Regions from separate parts of the Homo sapiens genome. Here all the other regions are linked to region 2. The links are contacts of gene promoters, found by promoter capture Hi-C in human tissues and cell types (Jung and others, 2019). All regions are on one chromosome and are shown on one strand. Each heading gives the region's core, a stretch centred on a gene start or on the middle of the fragment in contact. The rest is flanking DNA. Distances are from core to core; before and after follow the strand shown.

Region 1 (2,887 bases), core at 89-2,588, 230 kb before region 2:
AAAATATATACATATATTAGTGGCTACCCAGAAAATTACCTGTCAAAATAAAGTTTATTTTCTTTAAGGAAGAAAGAACATTTCTTTTTCAAACAGAAATTAGCTATGAATCTTTCACACTCAGATTCTAAGTAATTGTCCCTTACTCTTTAAGTTCAATATCCTTGATAGATACAAGAAGGAAAGAGTTAAAATTCATAGAGAATTACTTTATAAACTGATTGCAAAAGAGGTCACAAGCAACAGATGTGAGAAGATAAAAGCACTTCAGGTGTTGAGCTGCCCTTTGATGCAAGCAGGCCAAATTCAAGTGGCTCTAAAAGTATTAATTTAGGGCCGGGTGTGGTGGCTCACACCTGTAATCCCAGCACTTTGGGAGGCTCACAGGGGAGGATTGGTTGAGCTTAAAAGTTCAAAACCAGCCTGGGCAACATAGTGAGACTTCATCTCTACAGGAAAATTTTTTAATTCGCTGGGCATCGGGTGTGCACCTGTGGTCCCTGTTACTTGGGGGACTGGGGCAGGAGGATCACTTAAACCCAGGAAGTCAAGGCTGCAGTGATCTGTGATTGCACCACTGCACCCTAGCTTGGGAGACAAAGTGAGACTCTGTCTCAAAGTAAATGAATAAATAAACTTGTTAATTCAGGTTCAATTATGCATAGAAGAGCATAATTCTTGTTAAACCTACCAATAAGAAGAAAATGACATGGTTAGGGCCTATTGTTAGAGAAAACTCCTTGTATGTACCCATTTATTTTATAGGACATTTTACCCTGTGCCTCATTAGGGCATTGAAAAGTAGAGTATGTGAGGTGATGCATATATTAAACAAAAAATAAAGAAATATAGTATATTCAGGGGAAGATTTTGAGGCTAATGGGTATCCAGAAATCATCTCCTACAAGGAATGGAGAGAGAATCAAATGTATGAATGTGTCTGCCAGGTATTGAACGAACTCAGGGAAACTTTCAGTATTCTCTAAACAATGCATATCTAGCTCCTCTCATCAGTGTGGTTCTCAGCTTTTAGTTTGCATGAGAATTACCTAGAGATTTTATTTAAAATATAGACAACCAACACAGTAAGTACATGCACCATCTCATTCGAGATGATTCTTATAGCACCTTTATTTATAATTTTTAGCTAGATGCTAATTAACTTGCCCCAAGTTATCACTGAATTAATCACTAAACTAATAAAAGAAAAACGTATTCTTCTCTCTGTCCAAAATCTGTGCTCTTAGACTCAACTCTACACGGTCTCATTACTAATAAATCAGAAAACAATACTAAAGTGTCAGGTTTCTTAGTACATAGTAACTACCAAAAACTGGCCAGCTTTTAAAATATGACAGTAGCTAAGTTAGAAAGAATTGCACAAAAGTATCTGAAAAACCATTGAAAAGAACAGTTTTCCAATATTCGCCACATTATGCCCCAAAGGCACAACAGGAAATTGAAATTTGGCATCAGGCCAGCTTTAAAGCTTTCATCATTTTAATCTTGAAAGATTATGATTCCAGCTTTAAGAAGCTTATGTGATTTATCTTCATAGGCCAAACCAAAAAGTCCGCAGTCATTTGGAAATAGGCCCTGCCATTGTGTTCAGTGACATCTTATATTGTCAGGAAGTGATCAAGTATGCAATTATTTTGTGTAATCCTTGCATTCCTGTTAGTATAAGCTAGAGAAAAGAAAAAAAAATTGATGATCATGTTCCTTAGTGTGAAACTGCACAAAATGCTGTCCCATTGCTGATCCCTTCTTTCCACTAAGAAATAATTATGCCACTGCGGTAGCTACAACTAAGGTACAACGAGAAAATAATTTTCTTGAAATGAACAGGAAGCTTGAGATGGAAACACATTTTCATTACTTTTCCATTTTACTTCACCAGGATTCAATTTTTCCTTGAAATAGTATCTACTTATAAAACTAACATAAAGACACAACTACTGCTAAGATATTCATTTATAGATATTGGGAAAAAGAGTGAAACTAGTTTCACTGTCCCTGTTTTGTTAGTGGCTGTAGTGACCATTAATTTTGTCCCTCTTGCTAACTGACCTTGACCAGCTAATAAAAAATTTCAGCATTTGAAAGAAAAAAAGCACATTTCTTCATTTCTTCTTTTGTATTCAATTATATTTCACTTGTATGCTTGGTATTTTTCTAAAAAGCCAAATCAAGAAAAATTCAGTAGGACTGTATCATCTAAACAAAGATTAAAAATTTTAGCACCCAAATACATGATGTAATTTACATTTGATTATTGCTTATATCATATCCCAGCTGAAATACTAAGAGATTTCTAGTCTTTAAGTCTTTTGCATGGCAAAGACAGAGAGTAGATTCTTGATAATTTCCAATCCTGCAGCCTCCTTGGTTAAGGACATAGAGGGTATATTAGTCAGAGTTCTCCAAATAACCAAAAAAAAAAAAAAAAAATGAATGAGACATGAAAGTAGAGAAAGATTTTAAGGAATTGGTTCACACAATTGTAGGGGCTAGCAAGTCCAAAGTCTGCAAGGCAGGCCAGCACTCTGGACACCCAGGAAAGAATTGATGTTGCAATCTGAAAGCACAATTTCTCTTCCTCAGGGGCCTCAGTCTTTTCTCCCAAGGCCTTCAACTGATTGGATGAAGCTCACTCCCATTACAGAGGGACATCTGCTTTGCTCAAAATCTACTGATTTAAATTTTGAAAAGATTTTCACAGAGACATGTAGACTGGTGTTTGACCAAATATGTACATACCATGGCATAGCCAAGATAACACAAAATTAACCATCACAGGAGGCCTTGGAAGACTTCACAATATCAGCAGAAATTATGTACATGGCATATAGGTGCTGTATTAGTCCGTTTTCATGCTGCTGATAAA
Region 2 (2,781 bases), core at 198-2,697:
AAGAAAGCAAAATGCCATTAACCTCTATTAAAATAAGAGGTAACAGGGTGTACCTGATGTGCTATTTACATGCAAGGTGTTAGGAATAGAAATTGCAGGACCTCCAGGAGTTCGAGGCCAGCCAGGCCAAGATGGTGAGACCCCCATCTCTACTAAAAACACAAAAATTAGCCAGGCACGGTGGCGGGTGCCTGTAATCCCAGCTACTCGGGAGGCTGAGGCAGGAGAATCGCTTGAACCAGGGAGACGGACGTTGCAGTGAGCCGAGAATGTGCCACTGCACTCTAGCCTGGGCAACAGAGCAAGACTCCGTCTCAAAAAAAGAAAAAAAAAAGGGAAGAAATTGTAGGACCTGAGCCAGAAAAAACTCATTTGGTCGTCTCTGAAAGCCTTTAGTCTTTACAAGAATTGCCAGAATCAACTGATGGTGTATTCTCTTGTCACTGCAGCCCAATTGAGACCACTGTATTTAGTTGTCTGTCCCCTTAGATCCACAATATTTTAGGGACTCCTGGCACCATTCCATAGTAGGAAGAAAAAGCTAACATAATTCAAGTTACCAAAACTGGGGTCTGGGGAGAGAAACTGATAGGAACTTCATCTACACTTTCTCATAAAAACTGATACTGATAACATAGCAAACAAAAAGTACAGTAAAAACAAAAAGATGACACAATACGCTTCTCATTTATTTTATATTTATACAAACAGCGCTTCCCTGAAAAATCAGGGTATCGTTCAAGATTTTATCTTTATTCACAGAAGTTTTAAAATTTTTAACTTTTATATGCACAAGACAGTTCTGATTTGTTGAATTAAGTGACCGCGGGTGTGCTAATGCTTCTAAAAAACAGCATTAGCCTTCTCCCATCAAAAGTCCGGAAGCTGCCCTTCAGTCGTCAAAGTGTTTGCCTTAATTTGCAATCGTTATGACTTGAGCCAAATGCTTATACCTCATTTGTGTCGTATATGTGAAGATACAATTGCAAATCGTTCACGACCTTGAGTCAAGACCTTGAGTTTCCTGAGGTCAGGAGACCGTTAGGGAATGTGAGTGTCCCAGACGGGCGCTGAGCCCAGCTCGGAGACCCACCCCGCCCGTAGCAGCGGCGCGGGCCCCAGAGAGCCCCGCACTCGGCCGCGCCTCAGTTACGCTGACTCGGCTGTGCCCGCAGTGTCGCGCTGTCGCGTAGCCAGGTGTCGCCGGGCTGGCGCGGTTATTTATGACTGCGTGGTTGGGCTGGGGGTTCGGGGCCGGGGAGCAGCCGGGATCCGCCGCCTCTTCCATGATCTTCCCGGGCCGAACCACGGGACCGCTACGCTGAAGGTGGCGTCGCGGGTCCCCGGGGCCGCGCGAGTGTAGGGGTCGCTCTCGGCCGGCCGCGAAGCTCGCGGCACCGACTTCTCGCGAGATTTCGGCGACCCCCCCCCCCGCCCCCGCCCCTCCGTTCTCTGCCCCCTCCCAGCTCTGGTGTGGGCGGCCTCCGCTATGGCTGCGCTGCGAAGGCTCTTGTGGCCGCCACCCCGGGTGTCTCCTCCACTCTGCGCTCACCAGCCCCTCCTTGGGCCGTGGGGGCGGCCTGCGGTGACCACCCTGGGCCTTCCTGGCCGGCCCTTCTCCTCCCGAGAGGATGAGGAGAGGGCTGTGGCGGAGGCGGCATGGAGGCGGCGGCGGCGCTGGGGGGAGCTGAGCGTGGCGGCGGCGGCCGGCGGGGGGCTGGTCGGCCTGGTATGCTACCAGCTGTACGGGGACCCCAGGGCCGGCTCGCCGGCGACCGGGCGACCCTCAAAGAGCGCGGCCACGGAGCCCGAGGACCCGCCCCGCGGCCGGGGGATGCTGCCCATCCCAGTGGCGGCTGCCAAGGAGACGGTGAGTGCGCGAGCGCGCGTCACACCTGCGCGGGGGATGTGACCTTCGTGCCGGGTACGCAGGACCCTGGAGGCTGTGGGGACGGTGCAAGCGCTGTGGCCGCGGGTGAGGAACTTCCCGTGAGCGAGGCTGACACCTAGGCCGGACAGCCTAGGATCCGGTCACCCACGTATTGGGAAGACCAGTGATGCTGTCCCTGATGCATCAGGACCTTAAAGGTGGCTGCAGCTACCAAGTATCAATCCAAACCCAAAACCAACACCCCTCCCCCTCTTACAAAAAAAGATTCAGAAATGAAGGCCATGACAGGCAGAAAGTGGACCGCTGTAGGTGTGGGAAAAAGGAACTCCTAGATTGCGCGGGGCGACAGCTAATGACCCAGGAGGTCTGTTGCATTAGAATGAGTTTCGAAGCAGCGGTCTGAGATCTCAAAAGCCACTACTTTAGCATATGAGAATTTATTAGTCCCAAGAAAGGAAATGCTAAACCTGCATGCTAACGCCCTTATCATACCCAGGGAATGTTGATGTTACCAGGTCTGAAAAGAAATAAAAAATTGTTCAAAAAGAGACATAAGTATTTCTCTCTTTTTCCTTCCCCCACTAAAGCCAGAATCCCGTTAGTAGGTAACGATAAAACACAAAATGGATAGGATAGCAAATGTAGGAGGCTGTGAATGACACAAACTCCTACAGAAGAAAGTCACGTGAAAATGTTCAACTGTCATTATGTAGTTAATAATACAAGGTAAAGATGTGTGAAAGGCAACAGTGAGTAAAGGAGCGTGATTTTTTTTGTCGCATCAGTATATTTAATAGTCATGTAAATGACTAGGAAAATTAAGGAGATTTTCCTTGCAAGGCTCGAAGAATGTGAACGGCGTAGATGAAAATAATTTAGAAAACAGAGAG
Region 3 (2,700 bases), core at 6-2,505, 210 kb before region 2:
ACGCACTTTCATTTCACCCCCAAAATATCCACACTGCCAGAACCACCTGCTGCCAGGTGGGAAAATTCACCTTATTCAAATATAGATAGAATAAGAGGAACATATTCTGCCTCCATACGAAGATTTTGGGTAAGTATCCATTAGTTCAATTTTTTTCTGTATTACTCACATCTCCTGTATCCTTACCGATTTTTTATCTGATATTTTATTTATTGAGAGAGTTTTGTCAAACTCAGTAAGAAAGTGATGAAAAAGAATGGTGTAACTTTCCTGCAGATAATAAAAACTCACTGGAGAAAACATTTTCAAAAAGTTAATGAAAAAATGTAACAACATTCCGAACATAAACAGAAAAGAATGAAAGAAAAAAAACTTCATTTGCTTAAGAATAAAGATAATGGAACAGACATAAGAATTCTATTGAGTAAAATAAAAAACATTAACAGAAATAAAACGAATCCCAAATAAACAGAGATATGTACCTTGTTCATAGATGGGAAAACTCAGAGAGGCAAATTATCCCAAATGGATCTACAGATCCAATAAAATCCCAATAAAAATTTCAACAGATTTTTTTTGTGGAAATTGGCAGGTGGACTCTAAAATTTACATGGAAATACAAGTGGCCAAGAATAGCTAAGACCCTCTTGAAAAATCAACAAGGCTAAAGGACTTACACTGTCAGGTATCAAAATAAATTATGAAGCATTAATTATTAAAATAGTTATTATCGACTCAAAGGTAGATAAATAACCCAGTGGAACAGAATGAAGTCTTCAGAAGCAGTCCCAGACAAGCTATTTGTTAAGTTAACTTTGCAATTGAGTGGGGGAATAAATGGTCTTTTCAATAAATATGGCAGGTCAATTGTATAGGCATATAGAAAAAAATAATATTTACCCATAGGTCACTAAAATATGTTGCAAAAATGGCCACAAATCCCTCCCATTCCTCTATGCATACCCTTTTGTGGCATAATTTCGCCTTTTCTCATATCAGAAGTGAAGTCTATTTATCCTCTTAAATCTAGGCAGGGATACGTGACTTCTTTAGCCAAAGGGACAATATGAAATGTGACATACGCAGGGCTGTGAAAAGCGCTCATGCATTAGGACTTGCCCTCTTGTTGCTGGAAACCCTGAGACCATCATCTGATGATCCTGGACCAGCCTATTGACATAGCATGAGAGACCATGTGGGAGAGATGCCAGCCAACCCAGCCATCCCAGCCACTCGCAGAATTGTGAGCTAAATGAAATAGCTGTTTTAAGCTACTATGTTTTGGGGTGGTTTGTTCCACAGTAAAAGCTAATTGCTGCAGTTCTACCACAAAAATTCCAGATGGATTGTAGATCTAAACGTGAACAGTAAATGACAAAAGCTTCTACAACAGTGCTGTCCAATAGAAATGTTCCCTATTTGCAATGCCCAGTAGGGTTGCCACCAAGCCACTTGTAACTACTGAGTACTGAAAACATGACTAGCACAAATGAGGAAATGAATTTTCAATTTATTGTAATTTATATTTAAGCTTAAATAGCTACACTAGGCTACTGGGTACAGTATTGAACAGTGCAGTTCTAGAAAATAACACAAGAAAATTATTCAGGAACTTTGGATTAAAAAATATATAAACAGGGGAAGAAGTACTGATCATATTGGAAAACAATGATTAACTAACCCACATAAAAACTAAAGATTTTTGTTTGTCAATAGACATCATTAAGTATTTGAAGAGATAAACGATAATTTGGAAAAATAAAATTAAAACATATTTCTGACAAAGGAGTCATATCCAGAATACATTAGGAATTCCCAAAAAATAAATTAAATAAGTACACCTAAAAACCCAGCAATTCTATTCCTAGGTAAATAGATATGTGTACATTATGTACATCAAAAGACATGTCTAAGAATATTCACAGCAGCAGTATTTTTAAGTAGCTACAACTAGAATAACCCAAATATTCACCAACAGTAGAATAAAATAGAATATTTGCAAAATAAAATATGAAAGAGTATATTACATGGTATACATATATATGGTTACATAAAAATGGATGAAATCTCACAACATTGAGCAAAAGAAGTCACGTGTATTTGTTTACCTATTTTATTTTTCCATTTGTATGAAGTTTAAAAACTTTGGACATAATCATTAAATTTAGTTGTGAAAGATGGCTCAATATTAAGAGATTCAGTAAGTTATCTTAATAAAGTTATTCTGTTCATGATCTAAAAAGAAAAACCTATAATCATCTCCATGGATATTGAAAAGTTATTTAATCAATTCAACTCTATTCTTAATTTTTAAAATATGTAATAAAAGTCATTCAGTAGGCACTTCCTTAATATGTGTGCTGGAAACCCTTTTTGGTTCCTTAATCCTGCCTACATTGTTATAAATGTTTTCTCTTCATTAAACTCTTGTTAGTTACTTAATTTCATTGTACTGTTTGTGGCAAAGATGTTACCTGGTACATGATTGTAGGTTAGAAAGCCCAAACACTAGCATCTTTCCTAACCAAGAGACACAAGAAGAACAAGACTAAGGATGGCCACTATCAACTCTCCTATTTAACTTTGTATTAAAAGTATTCAGCTAAACAACTGGGCAAGAGAAAAAAAGCTAGTGCTTAAAAGTAGCAAAGGAAATTCTGTTGTTCTATTGCACAGTAGGATAACTATAGTTAATAATAA
Region 4 (2,842 bases), core at 124-2,623, 240 kb before region 2:
TAAATCTGGAAAAGTTGTGTAAATCTCTTTGCCTCAGTTTCCCGATATAAAATAATTATAATAGAACCTACCTCAAAAGGGTGTTGTAAAGATTAAATGTTAATGCATCTAAAGTACCTAATACGTACCTAACTCATAGTAAGTACTCAATACATGATAGTGAGAGGTGACAGCGTGCTGGCAGTCCTCAGAGCCCTCACTTGCTCTTGGCACCTCCTCTGCCTGGGCTCCCACTTTGGCAGCATTTGAGGAGCCCTTCAGCCCCCCACTGCACTGTGGGAGCCCCTTTCTGGGCTGGCCAAAGCCGGAGCCCACTCCCTCAGCTTGCAGGGAGGTGTGGAGGGAGGCACGAGCGGGAACCGGGGCTGCGTGCGGCGCTTGCGGGCCAGCTGGAGTTCCGGGTGGGCGTGGGCTTGGTGGGCCCCGCACTCGGAGCAGCCAGCCAGCCCTGCTGGCCCCAGGCAATGGGGGACTTAGCACCCGGGCCAGTAGCTGCGGAGGGTGTACTGTGTCCCCCAGCAGTGCCAGCCCACCGGCGCTGCGCTCGATTTCTCGCCGGGCCTTAGCTGCCTTCCCGCGGGGCAGGGCTCGGGACCTGCAGCCCGCCATGCCTGAGCCTCCCACCCACTCCATGGGCTCCTGTGCGGCCCGAGCCTCCCCGACGAGCACCACCCCCTGCTCCACGGCGCCCAGTCCCATCGACCAACCAAGGGCTGAGGAATGCCAGCGCAGGGTGCAGGACTGGCAGGCAGCTCCACCTGCAGCCCCGGTGTGGGATCCACTAGGTGAAGCCAGCTGGGCTCCTGAGTCTGGTGGGGACGTAGAGAGTCTTTATATCTAGCTCAGGGATTGTAAACACACCAATCAGCACCTGTGTTTAGCTCAAGGTTTGTGAGTGCACCAATCGACTCTGTATCTAGCTGCTCTGGTGAGGACGTGGAGAACCTTTATGTCTAGCTCAACGATTGTAAATACACCAATCGGCACTCTGTATCTAGCTCAAGGTTTGTAAACACACCAGTCAGCACCCTGTGTTTAGCTCAAGGTTTGTAAATGCACCAATCGACAATCTGTATCTAGCTGCTCTGGTGGGGCCTTGGAAAACCTGTGTGTCAAAACTCTGTATCTAACTAATCTGATGGGGAAGTGGAGAACCTTTGTATCTAGCTCAGGGATTATAAACGCACCAATCAGCACCCTGACAAAACAGGCCACTCGGCTCTACCAATCAGCAGGATGTGGGTGGGGCCAGATAAGAGAATAAAAGCAGGCTGCCGGAGCTAGCATCGGCAACTGGTTCAGGTGGTCTTCCACACTGTGGAAGCTTTGTTCGTTCACTCTTTACAATAAATCTTGCTACTGCTCACTCTTTGGGTCCACGCTGCTTTTATGAGCTGTAACACTCACCGCGAAGATCTGCAGCTTCACTCCTGAGGCCAGCGAGATCAGGAGCCCAGCAGGAAGAACAAACAACTCCAGACGCGCTGCCTTAAGAGCTGTAACACTCACCGCGAAGGTCTGCAGCTTCACTACTGAGCCAGCGAGACCACGAACCCACCAGAAGGAAAAAACTCCAAACACATCTGAACCTCAGAAGGGACAGACTCCAGACGCGCCACCTTAAGGGCTGTAACACTCACCGCCAGGGTCCGCGGCTTCATTCTTGAAGTCAGTGAGACCAAGAACCCACCAATTCAGGACACAATAGCAACCTGTGTAACTCTTCTCTCGGGCCATTCACTATAGTTGAGCTAAATTTCTCTTTGTCAAGCAGGAAATGCACTGTTTTCCTAAACTGTTTTTTGAAGCCCACTCGTCCCTGAAGTCCAGCAAAAAGGAATTCTCTTCTTCATTTAATTTTCGGAAACACTATATTTGCCTTGGAAACTCAAAATGCACTGAAATATATTAAGGACTTTGATATATTTGTAATTTAAAAATCTGTTTCATTTTGTTTAACATGATGAATCCCAAATATACAAGATCTCTTGACCCTTGAGTTTAACAGTCACTTACTCATTTTTATTATTTCATCTGTGTACGTTTCGTTTTAAGGTCTTCATTTTCTTGAAATGAGATCATTTCATCTTTCTTTTTTTTTTTTTTGAGACAAAATCTCACTCTGTCGCTGAGGCTGGAGTGCAGTGGCACAATCTCGGCTCACTGCAACCTCTGCCTCCTGGATTCAAATGATTCTCCTGCCTCAGCCTCCCCAGTAGCTGGGACTACAGGTGCCTACCACCATGCCCATCTAATTTTTGTATTTTTATTAGAGACAGGGTTTCACCATATTGGCCAGGTTGGCCTTGAACTCCTGACCTTGTGAGCTACCCACCTTGGCTCCACAAAGTGCTGGGATTACAGGTGTGAGCCACCGTGCCCAGCCAAGACCATTTCATTTTTCTTTAACATACATGGGACAGCAAACTATGGAAAGCACGTAGGTATCCTGAGATGAAGAGATCATTCTGGACTATCCGAGTGGGCCCCTAAAGCCAATCACAACTGTCCTTATAAGAGAAAGGTAGGGGGAGATTTGAGACACAGAAGAGGAGAAGACACCGTACAGGAGAAGGCAATGTGGTCACAGAGGCAGAAATGGGAGGGATGTGGCCACAAGGCAAGGAATACTGGCAGCCACCAGAAGCCAGAAGGGGCAAAGAATGAATTCTCCCCTAAAGCAGGGGTCCCCAGCCTGTTACGTCTGCAGCCTGTTACGAACTGGGCTACACAACAGGAAATGAGAGATGGGTAAGCAAGCAAAGCTTCATCTGTATTTACAGCCACTTCCCATTGCTTGCATTACCCCCTAAGCTCTGTGCCCTGTCAGATCAGCAGCAGC
Region 5 (2,710 bases), core at 200-2,699, 140 kb after region 2:
GTATGTGTCAGAATTTCATTTTTTCAAAGGCTGAATAATATTTCGTGGCATGTATATATCAGATATTGTTTATCCATTAATGGGGGTTTGAGTTGTTTCTACCTTTTTGGCTATTCTGAATAATGCTGCTGTGAACAGTATACAGAAATACCTGTTTGAGTCCCTGCTTTAAATTCTTTTGGTAGATACCTAAGAGTGGAATTGGTCAGTCATATGGTAATTCTGTGTTTAATTTTTTGAGGACACCATACGGTTTTTCTGGAGCAGGTGATTTTTGATGCAGGTGTCACCCAGAGAAGCCTGTATATGCCCTTGTAAACATGTCCAAATTTGAAGGTCTCTAGAGGTATCCATGAGATGTATCAGTGTCACTGCAGCAATTTTTTTTTTTTTTTTTTTTACCATCTTGCCATTTCATGGTTCAGCAGAAAAGCTGATGGGCAGGGGATTGTGAAGAATCCCATGTTGCCCATATGGTGGCCTTCATTACTGGGTAGTGTGTTCCTTATGAGAGTGCTGGTCATCGGGCATGCCCAGGGCAGAAAACTCGAGGGCCTCTAGCTTACTGCATATAGGCAGGAATTCAACAACAGTTTTTGAGTAGCCAGAGTCCAGAGCACAGAAATGACAGATGGAAATTAAATCTTGAAAGAACATATTAGCAGATGGAAATGGTACGCAAACTGATAAAGAGGAGTGGGTGGGAAGGAGGGGAAGTATGCCGTGAATGCATCGTGAATACATGTGAGTGCATGGTGTCAATCATGAACTCGATTCTGATCCGCAGCACAGGGACTGAACATGATTTATAAATGAAGAGCAAGGTTTCTGTTTTGCCCAAAGATCCAGAGTAAGTGAAATGATTTTAGTAAGAGAAAGCATAAATCCATACATAAAATGAGGGGAGAGATACAGGCGGGAAACCTGAGATGCAGTTTACACATGGAGCAGAGGAAGAGACTCATTCCAAATATTGATGACTGGATTCTTCAATTCCTTGCATAATTTTTTTTTAGAACTTCTCACTTACATTAATGAATACATCTAGTATATAAACAGGTGGTACTTGTATAATATTACACTATTACAATATGTTGTGTCTTTAGGCAGTAGTCATGGAAATCTTTCAACTGTGGGTGGCCAGATAATGACAATGTCAGATTTATTTTGGTTGTGACTGAATACACATACTGTTTCAGCAATTGCTGTCAGAGAGATTGGGCTAGTGCTGTAGGTGAATGCAGTGTTGGGCGAGAGTATGATTTGCTGCAAGTAAGAAGAGAAAGGCATTGTATAATTCCAGCTGGGATCAAGAAAGATTGTGTATGTTTACTTTATGAATATATGACAGTGAAGTTACAGAAGAAAATAGTGCTTCTCAGTGACCCAATACTGAAGGGTGAGCTAGTGAATAGCTGGATACTCTCGAATGTTTTAATAGATATTGTGACCCAGTGCTATCGTGCAGCAATTACTGCTGGTGCTAGTGTTGGTTTAAATATTTGATTTCATCTCTTCCGGTGTGCCACTGTAAATTTTATTCCAATGAGCTCATAAACACAAATGTAGGAATTACATCCTTATATAGTTTCTTTCTCTGGAGAGTTGTAAAGTACTCATAAGTGTCAAATAATTTTATGAACCTAGAAATAATTGGATTAATTTTTAAATGTGTTACGTGTGCCTGTACTCTGGTCATATAGTACTCAACATATAGCTGCTAACCCTGCTAGATGGTTTTAGAACGTTGCCTGTTTCCTTGGAGATGCAGAAAAGATGCATTGGTTTTTCTCCTTAATAAATCAAACAGCTAATAACGTTTGGTCATGAAAAATAAGGAACTCTCAGCATTGTCCTTTATGATAATTCTGAGTATACCAGATAATAAGAAACTGATGTAAGGACATTAAAAAATACTCTACAAAAATTGTTTCAACTTGATTGTATATATTTTTTAAATGATGAAATAACCAATATACATGTGGGACGTTTTGCATGCTACCAATAAATAAATACATCCACACATATATAAGAAAGTTGAGTGTTACATTGGGCAAAATAATCATTGAGGCACTTCCAATTCTAAAATTTTGGTTCTGACTAATAAGGGGAGTATTTCAGGACATAAATCCCTAGTTGACATTCCCCTGGGTGGTAAATAGCCATTATGTGGAAAGCAGGCAGATCGTTGTTGAGGGTGTAGTATCCACCATAGACTTACATGGTTCTACTGAGTCAGTCATGGCCTCTGTGGTCTTTCCTCAAGAAGGGAATCTGGAATTGGAAAGGAGGGGGGTGGGGCTGAAACAATTCAGTGGTTGTAGGAACTTGGAGTTGAGTTGTAGCCATGTGTAGAAAAGGAAACACCCATACAACTCTATCTAAACAGGAGAAGTAAACTTACAGCTGCCCTCAAATCTGCACAACTTGCTGGCACTAGGAGCCTCTTCTATTTTAATTTGAGACAGGGATTATAGGATTCCATTGAGTAAGCTTTGAAATGAGGACACTAAGATCAGGGGGCCAGCCCTGAGATCAGATTTCCTTATTTATCTACATTGCTTAGTGCAGTCAGTGATTCAGAAATGGTCCTTCCCTTTGCCAAGATGAAAGTGGCAGTGAGTTTTTCATGGCCATCATTATGAGGTGACGTCTTTATTCCTTTTTCAGAACTGATAGATTGAAAGACCGACACATTCCTAATGATTTA

Evidence for each region. The method cuts DNA at HindIII sites, captures the fragments that hold promoters and counts their contacts. A contact is called where the count stands out against the background at its distance.
Region 1: a fragment that was not itself captured here is called in contact with the fragment with the promoter of MICU3 in region 2 in 1 of the 25 tissues and cell types used here (mesenchymal stem cells).
Region 3: a contact is called between a fragment that was not itself captured here and the fragment with the promoter of MICU3 in region 2, in 1 of the 25 tissues and cell types used here (dorsolateral prefrontal cortex).
Region 4: a fragment that was not itself captured here is called in contact with the fragment with the promoter of MICU3 in region 2 in 1 of the 25 tissues and cell types used here (dorsolateral prefrontal cortex).
Region 5: a contact is called between a fragment that was not itself captured here and the fragment with the promoter of MICU3 in region 2, in 1 of the 25 tissues and cell types used here (H1 embryonic stem cells).

The regions. Positions count from the first base shown.
Region 1 is chr8:16,800,577-16,803,463 of GRCh38, forward strand. All of the region lies in intron 2 of LOC105379297 (a long non-coding RNA gene), which reads right to left. Among named protein-coding and RNA genes, the nearest start is that of FGF20, 200 kb to the right of the region's middle. The HindIII fragment of the contact is 3,022 bases long and covers 1-2,849 here.
Region 2 is chr8:17,025,791-17,028,571 of GRCh38, forward strand. It overlaps MICU3 (mitochondrial calcium uptake family member 3), which reads left to right and starts at 1,448. Exons shown (of 15, transcript NM_181723.3): 1 at 1,448-1,870. The coding sequence starts at 1,490. RefSeq lists a silencer at 1,426-1,835 and an enhancer at 1,986-2,075. The HindIII fragment of the contact is 10,669 bases long and covers 1-2,781 here.
Region 3 is chr8:16,818,184-16,820,883 of GRCh38, forward strand. All of the region lies in intron 2 of LOC105379297 (a long non-coding RNA gene), which reads right to left. Among named protein-coding and RNA genes, the nearest start is that of FGF20, 180 kb to the right of the region's middle. The HindIII fragment of the contact is 3,324 bases long and covers 1-2,700 here.
Region 4 is chr8:16,783,567-16,786,408 of GRCh38, forward strand. All of the region lies in intron 2 of LOC105379297 (a long non-coding RNA gene), which reads right to left. Among named protein-coding and RNA genes, the nearest start is that of FGF20, 220 kb to the right of the region's middle. The HindIII fragment of the contact is 3,801 bases long and covers 1-2,842 here.
Region 5 is chr8:17,168,853-17,171,562 of GRCh38, forward strand. The region is part of intron 1 of ZDHHC2 (zDHHC palmitoyltransferase 2); the gene reads left to right. Among named protein-coding and RNA genes, the nearest start is that of ZDHHC2, 14 kb to the left of the region's middle. The HindIII fragment of the contact is 5,308 bases long and covers 1-2,710 here.